3 separate regions of the Homo sapiens genome follow, and all the other regions are linked to region 3. The links are contacts of gene promoters, found by promoter capture Hi-C in human tissues and cell types (Jung and others, 2019). All regions are on one chromosome and are shown on one strand. The core of a region is centred on a gene start or on the middle of the fragment in contact, and the rest is flanking DNA. Distances in the headings are between cores, read along the strand shown. Region 1 overlaps SEZ6L (seizure related 6 homolog like). Region 2 has its middle 22 kb from the start of LINC02559. Region 3 holds the start of SEZ6L (seizure related 6 homolog like).

What was found. Contacts are between HindIII fragments. The study calls those that stand out against the background at their distance.
Region 1: a fragment that was not itself captured here is called in contact with the fragment with the promoter of SEZ6L in region 3 in 1 of the 25 tissues and cell types used here (H1 embryonic stem cells).
Region 2: a contact is called between a fragment that was not itself captured here and the fragment with the promoter of SEZ6L in region 3, in 3 of the 25 tissues and cell types used here (adrenal gland, aorta and stomach).

Annotation. Positions count from the first base shown.
Region 1 is chr22:26,213,518-26,218,125 of GRCh38, forward strand. The region is part of intron 1 of SEZ6L (seizure related 6 homolog like); the gene reads left to right. Among named protein-coding and RNA genes, the nearest start is that of SEZ6L-AS1, 31 kb to the right of the region's middle. The HindIII fragment of the contact is 6,155 bases long and covers 1-4,608 here.
Region 2 is chr22:26,128,402-26,132,431 of GRCh38, forward strand. No RefSeq gene overlaps it. Among named protein-coding and RNA genes, the nearest start is that of LINC02559, 22 kb to the right of the region's middle. The HindIII fragment of the contact is 3,369 bases long and covers 142-3,510 here.
Region 3 is chr22:26,167,994-26,172,505 of GRCh38, forward strand. SEZ6L (seizure related 6 homolog like) reads left to right here and starts at 1,469. Exons shown (of 17, transcript NM_021115.5): 1 at 1,469-1,770. The coding sequence starts at 1,677. LOC105372971 (a long non-coding RNA gene) reads right to left here and starts at 1,241. Exons shown (of 6, transcript NR_188586.1): 1 at 1,010-1,241. RefSeq lists a silencer at 1,492-1,621 and an enhancer at 2,448-3,387. The HindIII fragment of the contact is 7,592 bases long and covers 1-4,512 here.

The sequences.
Region 1 (4,608 bases), core at 1,191-3,690, 46 kb after region 3:
GCAGTTCATTCACAGATCACTAACCCGGGGCTATCCCTGCAAGTTAACAACCCCTGGTTACTTTTATTTATTTTCTTCCTTGACAAGAAGGATTAAACCTTCCCTTCTCTTCCTAACACCCAGCACACAGCTGGACTAGGCAAAATTCTTAAATTAGAGTGTGGATTTTAAGAGGCTGAGGCAGGAAGATGGCTTGAGACCAGGAATTTGAGACAAGCCTAAGCAAGACCCTGTCTTTACAGAAAATACAAAAATTAGCTGGGTGTAGTGCCGTGCACCTGTAGTCTCACCTACTTGGGAAGCTGATGTGTTAGGATTGCTTGAACTTAGGAAGTCTAGGCTGCAGTGAACCGTGATCATGCCACTGCTCTCCAGTTTGAGCAATAAAATGAGATCCTGTCTCTTAAAAAAAAGAAAAAGAAAGAAAGATCTTGAGCAAGGATGGATTGGGCCCACAGGACAAGCCCAACATTGTGCAAGGCACAGGGCAGTACAAGGACTTCCCAATGATGGCCTCTGTCCACACATTGCTTAATAACCAGTGGCATTCATAGTAGTATTTCAAGAATTCAAAGAGGTCTGCCACTGCAAGAGAAACTAATGACTTTGGAGATCAGTGACCTTCTTGAGTAACTTGGGAAGGAAAAGCTATACAGTCTAATGGTTAAGAAAAAAAGGCATTGGGATAAATTTTGCTTTAAACCTAGCTGTGTGTCCTAGAGCAGCTCACTTCACCTCTCTGAGCCTGGTTTCTTCATCTGAGAAACGGAAGCAGTGATAGTTCCTGCCTCACAGAGCTGTCCTGAGGATTAAAGAAGTAGATGCATGTGAAGTATTTCATGCAGGGCCCGGCACACGGAAAAGAACCAATAAACGTCAGCTATTCTTAGCTACTTGCATCCTAGACCCGTTTTCTCAGATAGAACATTTGCAGGAACATGGATTAAAGGTTATGGATTCCCTGATGGGGAAGAAGAGGGAAGAAAAAACTTTAAAGTCCTGAAGGAGCCAGAACTATACAAAGCAGGAATATCATGTGGAGTATTATATATAAGAAATGCTGGTCGGATCTCCTGCGGAATTTCAGGAAGGAAGCAGCTTGCCCAGAGAAAAGGTGTGAACAGACAGACAGCAACACCTTGTTTTTTTCAGAAGCTTCAACAAAAGGATTTTGGCGCCAGTTGGCCCAGATTTGGAGGGGAGGAAGAAAAGAGTGGGTTGCCTGCAGTCAGAAAGAGACTGAAAGGAGAAGGGGAAAAAAGTAGAAAACACAGAATTATGACTTGGGGAATAGACAGAGTTTGCGGGGATGTTTCTGGGTGGGTGGTGGGCATGGCATTGATCAAACTTATAACACTGATGAATAGAAACATATAAATGACTACATAAAGGAATACATTTAGAGTGCCTGGCATATGACAAAAAAAAATGCTCAATGTGATTTAGTACGTATTCATTGGGCAGGCACTAAGTAAGTGTTTATTGAACTAAAGAAATGAAAGTGGTACATACTTTTTAAGGGAGGAGAACAGAATCGTTCAAGAAAAATGTTTCTCAGCCCTGAACTTTCATCACATGGGTGGTGCTTGGTTAGAAGCGAAGACCGAATTACATGTATCAGTAACTTTGTAATTTACTTAAATTTATTGTTTTAATCATGATGTTAACTGAGATCATTGTAGAGTTTATGTTTGTCCTAAGATGTACTTCTTTTTTAAAAAATTTTAGGTTCACTAGGTATATGGGCTTGTTACACAGGTGTTACATGCACAATGGTGGAGGTTAGACTCTAGTGCACCCATCACCCAAATATTAAACATTTTACCCAATAGGTAATTTCTCAACCCTCACCCCACCTCCCACTCAGACATACTTCTGCATGTTCTTGGTGAGGTCCTGGTCTTCTTTTTCCTTGCTTGGAAAACTTGCTGGATAGATGACTCCCACCATCTTGAAATGGCAAACCAAAATGGGAGAGGCGATTCGTTTTGTTTCCAAAAGAAAACAGATCCCTAATGGAGACTCAGGAAGGGATGAAAGAAAAAAAGAAAAGGCTCAATCCATATCAATCCCTAAGAACACTGGAGAGCCTAGCTGTGAGAGGTAAAGAGAAAAAAGGGAGCAAAAGGAAACCCCATAAAGAAGTAAATGAATGAATGAAAAGAATTCCCCAGGCCTTCATTTCATAGACTGAAGGTTGTGCCCCCAGCCTGAGGTGGGTTTGGATCAAGTGCTCAATCCCAGTGACTTGTCAGGGATCCTTTCAGATGTGTTCACCTCTGGGAAGAAGGGCCATTCGCCTGGGGTGAGCAGGGATCTGAGGAAACGTTTAGGGCATCTTGACTGATGAGCTGAGCCTTATCTACAGAGCAGTGTGAACAGCCTGATGTGATGAGCTCGCTTTGCAAGGCACTGAATCATCCCAGCTTCTCGCTGACAGAAGCAGAGCAGAGGTCCCGGATGCTCCTTATTGCATGACGGGAGCACTAGGTGAAGCCACGGAAATTGGATTTGAGTGATTCCCATCTTCCTCTCTCCCTGCCCCCAAACTAGAGCATTCTGACCATCCAGCAAGCTTAAAGGAACAGAAGCAAAGCCCAGAGAGGAAGAAACAGAAACCCTGTCAGAAGCAAAGCCCAGAGAGGAAGAAACAGAAAACCAGGGAGAGCTGGGACCTTGCGCAGTCCCACGTGGTCAGTTAGTGGAGGAGCTGGAAATGATCTAGCTCTTTCTGCTAAATCAGTCTTTCCTGTCTCAGAACTTTTCCTGAGAAATCACTCAATCCCTAAGGGGACAGCTGACCTGTCCCCAAGTGGTGGATGTTTAGTTTATTGTCCTAAGAAATGATCCAGCAGGGGCCGAGTGTGATGGCTCACACCTGTAATCCCAGCACTTTAGGAGGCTGAGGCGGGAAGATCACTTGAGATCAGGAGTTCGAGACCAGCCTGGCCAACATGGTAAAACTCTGTCTCCACTAAAAGTACAGTAATTAGCTGGGTGTAGTGGTGTGCAACTGTAATCCCAGTTAATCAGGAGGCTGAAGCAGGAGAATCATTTGAACCCGGGAGGCGGAGGTTGCAGTGAGCCGAGATTGCGCCATTGCACTCCAGCCTTGGTGACAGAGTGAGACTCCATCTCAAAAAAGAAAAAGGAAAAGAAAAAGAAAAAGAAAAAGAAATGGTCCAGCAGGTAAAAGTAGTGTCCTTATGTGAATAAAACCAATTTGGCAATCATCATTATCATCATCAAAATGGCCAAAATTTATCAGACATCATGCTATTAATTTGTATTAAATCTGTACAACCACCCACTAGGTCATTCTCATTATTGTCCCCAGTTTGCATATGGAAAATCTAAGGCTTTGAGAGGTAAAGTCACTTGCTTAAGGCCATATAACCAGGAGGGAAGTGGTAGGGTTTAGCCTGGACCCCTTGATGTCTGGTGTCAATGCCAGAGCTCTTAACCACTGGGCTCTCCTGCACCCCTGAGGATTAAATGGGAATAACTGGGATTTGAACCCAGGACTTCTGACTCTTTAGTGCTTTGCTTTTTTGACTAATGATGATAACAGTAACTCACTAATTATCATCTCATTTATTCCACACAATAGCTTTAAGTACCTGCGTGGCAACTTGCACTCCTCCAGGATTACAGTGCTAGTAGGTAGCAGAGCTGGGACCCCAGAATGCCCCATTCTTCCCTTCCCACCACCATAGTGACATTTCCAAACCCAACACTGACTATAACCCTCCAACCCTTGAAACCAAACCCAGACTCTTCTTTGGAACTTACAAGACATGCACAATCAGGTCCTGGCTATCTTCTGTATCAGTGACATCCTCCCTTTTTTCTTTCGGCCACACTGATCTTCTTGTGGCTTCTGCCAACACAGGGCTTTTGCACCTGCTGTTCCCTCTTCCTAAACATTTCTGTAAACCCCTTCCTGACTTTTGGCCTGATTACCTTCTACTTCTCTTTCAGACCTCAGTGTAAGTGTCACTTCTGAAGACAGCTCTGTCTCTTCCTCTGGGGTATCCGTCTATTAGTGGGTCCACATTAATGTGATTATTTAATTAGGTAATGTTAAGTCTCTGCCCATCCAATTTCAATTTCTATGGCCATGAGCAAGTCCCCCACTCTGGGCCTCACTCTTCCAATCTGTAAAATGGATGACAAGGCCCCACGGTTCTTTCAAGATCAGCTTATATGGCCCCAAGTGGGCCTCGCAAATACAACATGTTGTGTGGGACTCCTCCTCCTCAAGGAATTTCCCCTTTAGGTCCTGCCATACGGCATTTTCTAAAATTCCCTTGCCACCTGCTGCGATGGAAGGCGAAGTGCCTGGCTTTCTTTCATGAGAGTTGAATTGAATTCTGAACGTAGAAGACACTTCTGAGGCTGATGTCGACAAGAAATGAACACAGACACAGGCTCCCTCTGCAAACAGTTCCTGGAGACCCTTCTCTGTCCTGTCAATCTCCTGGGTGCTGGAGAGCAGAGGTAAATTAGACACACTTCCTGCCGTTGATAAACACACAGTTGAGTAGGAAAACAGATGCAGGAATATACACAGCCATCAGGTAGAGAGAAAGAAAAACAATGTCTCCC
Region 2 (4,030 bases), core at 576-3,075, 39 kb before region 3:
ATCTCACTGCCCTCACCACTTTCTGTGAGTGTTTGTATTCGTACACGAGGCCTCTGGCAATGAATGAAAACAGTGTTATTTCCCCCCTTATTTTATTTTTTTTACACAAATAAAGCACGTTCATGACAGAACGGCAGTGCAAGTTCTTAATAAACCTGAATAGACATTTCTTCCCCAAGATCATGCGATCCATCTTTCTTTGAGATACTGACAATTTAGTCTGTTCCATTCTTACGGGGGTCTTACTTACGGGGTTCTTACTTTCATCATGAAGGAAGGTTACTATAGCAGCACAGAAAACTGAAAGTGATCATTGATTCTCACGAGCTCAGCATTGTGATACAAGAATAGGACACTTAGGGCACCCACCTTAACAGAAACAGGCTTTAGAATTTTTCAACGAGAGCCTCCTGTCAGTTGGTCCCATTAGAAGGTTTCACTAGCTTGCAAAATTACCTGTGTAACTGCAGTAAACATATGGAGACATTCCAGCCCTCCTGGGCATCAGGTCTGCCTGCATATTGTGAAGTCCATGCTAGCTGACCTCCAGCATTGGGGGGGGCTCATTCCTGAGCTCCTTGTCCCAACCCTTGTCTCCTTTCTTGCTTCCAATTTTGGCTCATGACTACGTCCCAGTTTACAACCTTATCCATCTCAGATCAAAACCTGGCACAGTTGCCCCATTGAAGACCTGGCTTCTGATTCCTCACTTGTGAGGTCTCCTTACTCACTATCAGCTGCTGCACTAACTCCTGCCCCTACTGCCACCCCTGGGTGCCAATCCACCATCACGTCTCACCAGGACTAAGGCAATAACCTTCTTCTTAGTCTCTTCCCTTTTGCTTTTGCTTTCTACAGTCTATTCTGCAAAAGAGTGACTTCTTTTCTTTTTTTTTTTTTTTTGAGACGGAGTCTCGCTCTGTCGCCCAGGCTGTAGTGCAGTGGTGCTATCTTGGCTCACTGCAAACTCCGCCTCCCGGGTTCAGGCCATTCTCCTGCCTCAGCCTCCTGAGTAGCTGGGACTACAGGCACCTACCACCATGCCCGGCTAATTTTTTTTTTTTTTTTTTTTTGTATTTTTAGTAGAGGCCAGGTTTCACTGTGTTAGCCAGGATGGTCTCGATCTCCTGACCTCATGATCTGCCCACCTCGGCCTCCCAAAGTGCTAGGATTACAGGCATGAGCCACCATGCCCAGCCGAGAGTGATCTTTTCAATGAAGCTGGAATCAGCTCTTTAAAATATGAATCTGGTCAGGAGGAATCTGGGTATAACCTTCCAATGATTTCCCATTGAACTTGAGATACAGACAGATACTCTACTCTCCTCTGCCTCTTCAAACTCACCTCCCACTACAATATCGCCATTTTATTTCTCAGCCTGCCCTATCCACAGACATCCTGCCTCCCACCTTAGGCCTTTCTCACACCATTCTCTCTGCTTGGAATGCCCTTCCCTCCTTCCTTCTTTGTCTTCTTGACTCCTCCAACTCCTCCTCCCAGTCTTGGCTTAAGTGTCAACCCCTCAGGGAAGCTTTTCTTGGCTTTCCTCAAACAGGATCTGGGCATCATCTGCCTCATTGCACCTTGGTCACAGCTCTGTGCTTTTCCCAGATAGCATTTGTTAAAGTTTAAAAGCATGCACTTGGGAATTTGTTTAAATTGTGGTAAAATACACATAACATAAAATTTACCATCTTAGCCATTTTAGAATGAATAGTTCAGTGGTGTTAAGTACATTTACATTGTTGTGCAACCACCACTGCCCTCTGTCACCATAACCCATTTCAGGTGGCAAAATTAAAACTCTATAGCCATTAAACAATAACTTCAGCCAGGTGCTGTGGCTCACACTTGCAATCCCAGCACTTTGGGAGGCCGTGGCAGGCAGATCATGAGGTCAAGAGATCGAGACCATCCTGGCCAACATGGTGAAACCCAGTCTCTACTAAAAATACAAAAAATTAGTTGAGCGTGGTGGCACGCTCCTGTAATCCCAGCTACTTTTGGGAGGCTGAGGCAGGAGGATCGCTTGAATTCAGGAGGCGGAGGTTGCAGTGAGCCGAGATCATGCCTCTGCACTCCAACCTGGCGACAAAGTGAGACTCTGTCTCAAAAAACAAAACAAACAAACAAACAAACAAACAAATAACTTCACATTCCCCCACTCCCGCTAGTCCTGGCAACCACCATTCTACTTTCTGTCTCTGAATTTGACCTTGTAGCTACCTCATCTGAGCAGAATCTGGCACTGCATGTCCTTTGTGACTGGCTTATTTCACTTTTGTTACATCCCCACCAACAGTACACAGGGGTTCCAATCCCTCCACATCCTCGCCAACACTTGTTATTTTTTGTGGTTTGGATAGTAACTGTCCTGATGGATGAGAGGTGGTATCTCCTGGTGATTTTGATTGGCATTTCCCTAATGACTAGTGGCGTTGAGCACCTGTTCAGGTGCTCCTTGGCCATTTGCATACCTTCATGTGCAAAATGTCTGTTGAAGTTATTTGCCTATCGTTTAACTGGGTTTTTTTTTGATGTTGTTGCAGAGTGTAGGAATTCTTTATATATTCTGTATATTAACTCCTTATCAAATATTCAACTTTCAAATATTTTCTCCCATATCATAGGTTACTGGATGATTTTTTTACAGCCTATCTCTCTACCCATGACTTTAAGATTCACGAGGGCAGGGAGGCTGTCTGTTCTGCTCATAAATGTGTGGCAAACACTTCGCACAGTGCCTGGCACATAAAGGTGCTCAATAAATATTTTTCAAAAATTCATTATTGAATGAATTAATGAGTGAATGAATGAAACAATGGTTGTTTGGAGACTCTTCCGGCTGGGCTGCCTCCCTGTCCAATACCTTTCTTGGCTTCTGTTCCTAATAAGGCTCCTAATGATTCGAACCCAAGTAGCCTGCTTTAAGCAAATATTAGTAGCAAGAATGTTGCCACAAGAGTTACGTTTTTACTTCCACTCCTCACCACAGCTTTTCCCTAATGGTTAAAAAAGTATTTTATGGGAAGCTGCAGTGTTTGCTGGTTTTTGTTGTTTTTTTTTCCTGTAACGAATAACATTTTGGTTCACTGCAAAGCTGGAGCATCTCCAGCAACTGTGCCAAGAATAAAACCTTGAGAGAATAAGAGAGGGGAAAAAAATCAGCTTGGTCAGGCAAAAATAAGCCATGGAATCCCTGAGAAGTTGCCTGAAGCCAGAGTTCTTGCAGAGGAGGCAGGGCCGGGAAGCTGTTGGAGGGGAAGCCAGTGCGATGTTTAATTTGTGTGCTCAGAATGGAGGCTGGGGTGAGTCTTGACTGTAATAACAAGCATTATTATGAGACGTGCAGTGCCCCCCGGCCAGACATCAGCTCCGTGATGCTGAGAGTAGGGGGATGAGGTGGATATGCATCATGACAGTGCTTTTGAAATGGAAATATCCACGCATTAGGCTGAAGGCAGAACCACTCAGAGGGAGAAAAGTGCTGCACCTGGGTCAAGAGAGTCTGCACCACAGGGAATGGCATAGGGCAGTCCTGTCCTTGGTGAGCAGAGATTTCTGAGAATGCTCATATGTGGCAGCAGAGCCTGCCCGTAAGGAATGCAGCGAAAGACAGGCTCTGGGTATCTGGAGGATGCAGCCCCATCCTTATCCTCACCTCCAGCTCCTCAGGTGGGCGCCCGGAGCAAGCCTGTTTGTCCCATCACCTGAAATGGTCTCTCTCCTTTAGACTTTCTGATTCCCTAAAGCCACCAACAAAGGGGTGACTCTGCCAGATGCTCCAAGGGCAGAGACCATATCTGTCTTGTTCACCACAGTATCCCTAGCACCTAGGACTAGCCTGGCGTGAAATAGGCTCCCAATAAATATATAATAAATGGATGCATGGATGGATGGATGGATGGATGGATGGATGGACAGATGGACTGACTGTCTTACACATAGTAGATGCTCAATGAGCATTTGTCAAATGAATTGACATATCCCTGTGTAATTTATGGTAACCTCGATGTCTGCCATAGAACC
Region 3 (4,512 bases), core at 219-2,718:
GAGCTGGCAGCCTCATACAGTAAAGCATGGAGTGCTTCATCTTCTCCAAAGGAGAAATCAGCACTCCTGCATCCCTGCCTCAGCCACCTTCTTTATAAAAGCCAGTTGGGTTTACTGCCAGGAATGGAAACCTCTTGCAGCTGAAGATAGGATTTTATGGGGGGGCTCTCTGTCCCCCAAAGCCTGAGGCAGGTCTGGGCCTATAGTCAGTGGCCTGTAAAAGAGCATTGTTTGAGTGAGTAAATGGGGAAGCTCTGGGTGTGGAGCGTCTTCTGAAACCCTGGGCCAGAGTGCTTCTCCTTCCCTCCTCCATCCAGTGTTCACCTCCCCCACCCATTCTTTCTAGGGACTCCCGGCTCCACCACGCTGCTAAAGACATATTCCTCCCCCTGTTGCTGCCTGCAACCTTCTCTCCATCTGCTCCCTCTGCCTGTTCAGGCTGCAGTGTGTAGATAGTATGGCAAGGTAGGGTAGGGGGAGGAGGACAGCTTCTAAATTGGGTGAGAGGCCTGTAAAGCCTGACCGGTCTGCCAAGGCTACGCAGGGAGAGACAGTCAGTCTCCAGGACTGTGCATAAGCTTGTCCCCACCTAGCTCTCTGCCAATGTCTGTCCCCAAGTATCTGTTTATCTCCCTCATTGATTGTCCCTCACTACCTCTATTTGTGGAGAAAAGACTTTGCTTGAGAATCAGGCCTGGGCAAGAATGCTGCAGAGGTGGGCCTTGTAGTCCTGCTCAGATAGGGAAGCGGGTACAGGAAGAGGCAAGCGGCTGACCTGAGAGGAAGCCTCGCAGCGCTAGTGCCCTGCCGGCAGTGGGGTTATGGGAGACAGGGCTCAGATTAAAAAGTGGAGGTGGATCTTAATTTAGAGTTCGTGATTGGGCTTCAGAGGGGTCCAGACCCCCTCGTGTTAGATGCACGATTTTGTGGCTATGTGTAGTGTTCTAGTAGATTCACAGCTGTCACCAGATCCACAGAGTTACAGACTTTCTAGGTTATGGGGACTCACTTTGGAAGCAGTGAGGCCCTGGCGGGGAAGCAGGCTGGCTGGATCCCAGAGGGCTCTGGAAAGAACTGGAACTGGGATGTATCTGGAAGGCTGGGCAGGCAATGGAAAGCTCCGGGCTGCTCATAAGCTCGGTTTCCAGGGCTCCATCTCACCGTCTGGAAAATGGTCCGGGTGCTCTCCAGCCTGGCCTGGCCAGGCAGAGCTGCTGGGAGCGTCAGCAGGGAGAGAAAACGCTCGGCTCCCAGGACGCAAGGGGAATTGGCGTTAAACTTTGCAGGGCCGACGGGCCGGCGGCCAGAGGAGGCGGCTGGCACCCCCGGCGCCGCCGCGGCCCCTCCAGCTCACTGCCCGCTCGCCCGCCCCCTCCCTCCCTGCACTCGCTCGGCACAGACTCGGCCCCAGCCCCCTCCCTCCTCCCGCTCGCTCCACGCTCGTTCGCTCGCTCGCCGGCTCCTCCTCACTCGCCCGCCCGCGCCCGGCGCAGCTCGGCCAGAGCGACCGCGGGGCTGAGCGCGCGTCCGCCCAGGGGGCTCCGGAAGCTGCCCCGGCCCGCGGCCTCCTCCCTCGCTCCCGCTTCCCCTTTCTCGCTCACCGCCGCCCTCCTTCCCCAGCTCCCTCGCCGTCCGCCCGCCCCACAGCCAGCGGCTCCGCGCCCCCTGCAGCCACGATGCCCGCGGCCCGGCCGCCCGCCGCGGGACTCCGCGGGATCTCGCTGTTCCTCGCTCTGCTCCTGGGGAGCCCGGCGGCAGCGCTGGAGCGAGGTAAGCGCCCCGAGGGGCGGGGCGGGCAGGGGGCAAAGTTGCCGGGAGAGCGGGGCAGCCAGGGGTCGGGGCTGACCAGGGCGACTCAGGCACCACCCGCCGGGATGGGAAGCGGTGGTGGCTGTCCAAAATCGGGGCTAGGAACCGCACGTCCCCTTGGCCCGGGCTGATGGGAGTGTGGAGGCGGGGATGTGTTGAAGGACTCGGGCGCTTCCCTGCTTCGGCTGCGGGCTCCCTTTCGGTCTTCCCCGGCTGCGGGGCTGATTCTCCTTTGCAGCCAAAGAGGTTCTCCTTGGAGTGGGGTCGCCTCCAAACCCCAAATTCCCGGCGCTTCTCTGCAACCGCACCCGGGGCTAGGTGCCAGATAATTATCTTCCTCTCCGGGAGAGGACAGGAAGGGGGGTGAGAAGCTGACCCACCCTGCAACTGAGGACTAGACTCAAACAGTGCATTTGCCGCTCCCCCCGACACCACAGAAACCCTTGACTCCTTTGGTTCAGGCTACCCCGAGGGTCTGTGTTCCTGGATCGATCTCAGCCAAGCGTCAGGATACCGGACTTGGGTGTGGCTTTCGCTAGAGGCCGGTGGAGGGGGCTGAGGGCTCTGAGAACTTGGTAGGGGAGGGAGAAGAGATGTTAGTTAGCAGTTGGGAACCTGAACGGGCTCCCCTCTACTCTCTCCCCTACTGCCTAGCATCTCTGATCACTGTTAGGAATGGGGGGTGAGGGGTGTTAGTTTCATCTACCACGTGTTTGTTGAAGGGGAAGAGGGGCCCAAATTTAGCAGAGAATGACAGCTCCTCTTTCTCAGACCTGGAACCATACCCTCTCTCCACCCCGGTAAGGTACCCCAGGAAAAGTTATGGGTGGGGGAGAGGGCCAGATAGAGAGAGGGGTGCAACGCCTAACTCACCCAAAGCTAACCCTCAGAGCTTCGGGGGTTTTCTCAGGCACCTAGGAGACCCGAAAATCAATGGGAGGGTTAGTTGGCCACAGGACCCGGCCTTCTTGCAAGGTCCCAGAAATGCGCTCCTCACGTGTAAAAAAGCAGACAGCTGCAGGGTCTGCCCAGGCTGAAGACAGAGGGAGCGCAGGCACTATGCTTATCTGGGGCTCCGCCTCTGTCATTTGCACCGTCTTGACTCGGAGTTGGGGGACAGGCGGTGTTCTTCTCCGGGGAGTTCTGGACCCCCAGCGCGCGCACCTGCTTTCAGCACCAAAGGCCCTGGACAGCTCTCAGCTCCATGGGCCCTGGCTCTGGGTCCCTTTCCCTTCAACCCTTCCCGGTGGCCTGGAGTGCCCCCCTCAGCATAAATCAGGCATTTTATCCCCCATCTCCCCGTCTTTTTAAATGTAGAGCCCAGAGTGCAGAGCAAAGGAAATTGTTCATCACCTTTTGTTTAACAAAGCATATCATTGAAGAACCCCCACCCCTTTTTTATGGGGCAATAATGTCCACAATTTACACCAGGTCTGGACAGTTTCTCTGGGAAAGATAGGGAAAGAGATTTGGTTTAAACAAATCGTTTCCACCACAGCATGGCCTTTCTTAATTAGCTGTCTCTTTCTAACAATGGCTTGGTGGCCTTGAACTGAGTCCAGCTCTCCCTCCCCCACCCCCTTTTGAATCTGTGTTGTGACTAACACACATATAAAAAGAACCTGAATCTACCCAGCAGCTTACTGGATTTTCTAAAGCAGTTCTACCTCTGAGAACTCCACTCTCCAATACACCACCTTGCAGGGAAAAAAAAATTGTCTTAATGGCACGTATTGAATTGTCATCTAAGACAAGGATTTCCTATTCTGTTTCCTTCACGGGCTGCAAACACATTGTAAGAGCAGGGGGAGACATGTGTGTGTTTTAATTTTTAAGACATTTCATACTATTTTTCCAACTGCTCAACACCATGGCTAGCCAGCATATTTTTTAAATTGACTTCAGGTCACCACCAAATTAAAGTCAATTGATGTGCTACTTCAGAAAGCTCATTAATAAGTGTGTGGTTCTGACTCTGAGTCATAAGGAGGGAGTGATACTGGCCAATGAGCATTGCCGAGTCTGATGGTGCATTTGGAGACAATTGACCTTCCACAATAAATTCTATTTTTAATGTAGAGCCCAACATCCACTAATGTCAGATGGAGAACCATTCACCTAACTCGTTGTTGCGAACTAGTTCTTCTGCTTGCGGTGAAGTGAGGGGATTTGTAAATACTCAAAAGGGACTTGTTGCTACATTCTGATGCAGGTCACGTGGTTCTCTGGGCCATTTCGCTGTAAGGCATGAATAAGTATAAAGTATAACTTGTTTTTGAAGAGCCTCCTTATTGTCTCAGATATGCACATGGGGAATAATTGTAACTACATGCAAAGACTGCAAAGCCTAAGAATAATTTCTTTTCTTTTTCTCTTGAATTAATAAGGCAAATTCAGTATTGCTCAATAAGGCTCAAATTTGCTGCTTCCCCAGTCTCTAACGTGTGTTGTGGTTAGATTCACTTAAAGACTATTTTCATTATGGATTGGCATTATTTTCCATAGAGTTTTGCCCGTTCCTGCCAGGGGCCACCGTATCTAAGCTTGAGGGATTCATCTTGTGTTCATATGGCTCAGTTAGGTATTAAGAAAATAATGTTACATTCCTTTCCTTCCCCTTCCAGGGCAAAAGGATATTTTCTGATCAGAGTGGCTTGTTTTCTTATTTTTGCTTACAAGTCCATTCCTGCAAGCTGTTCAAAT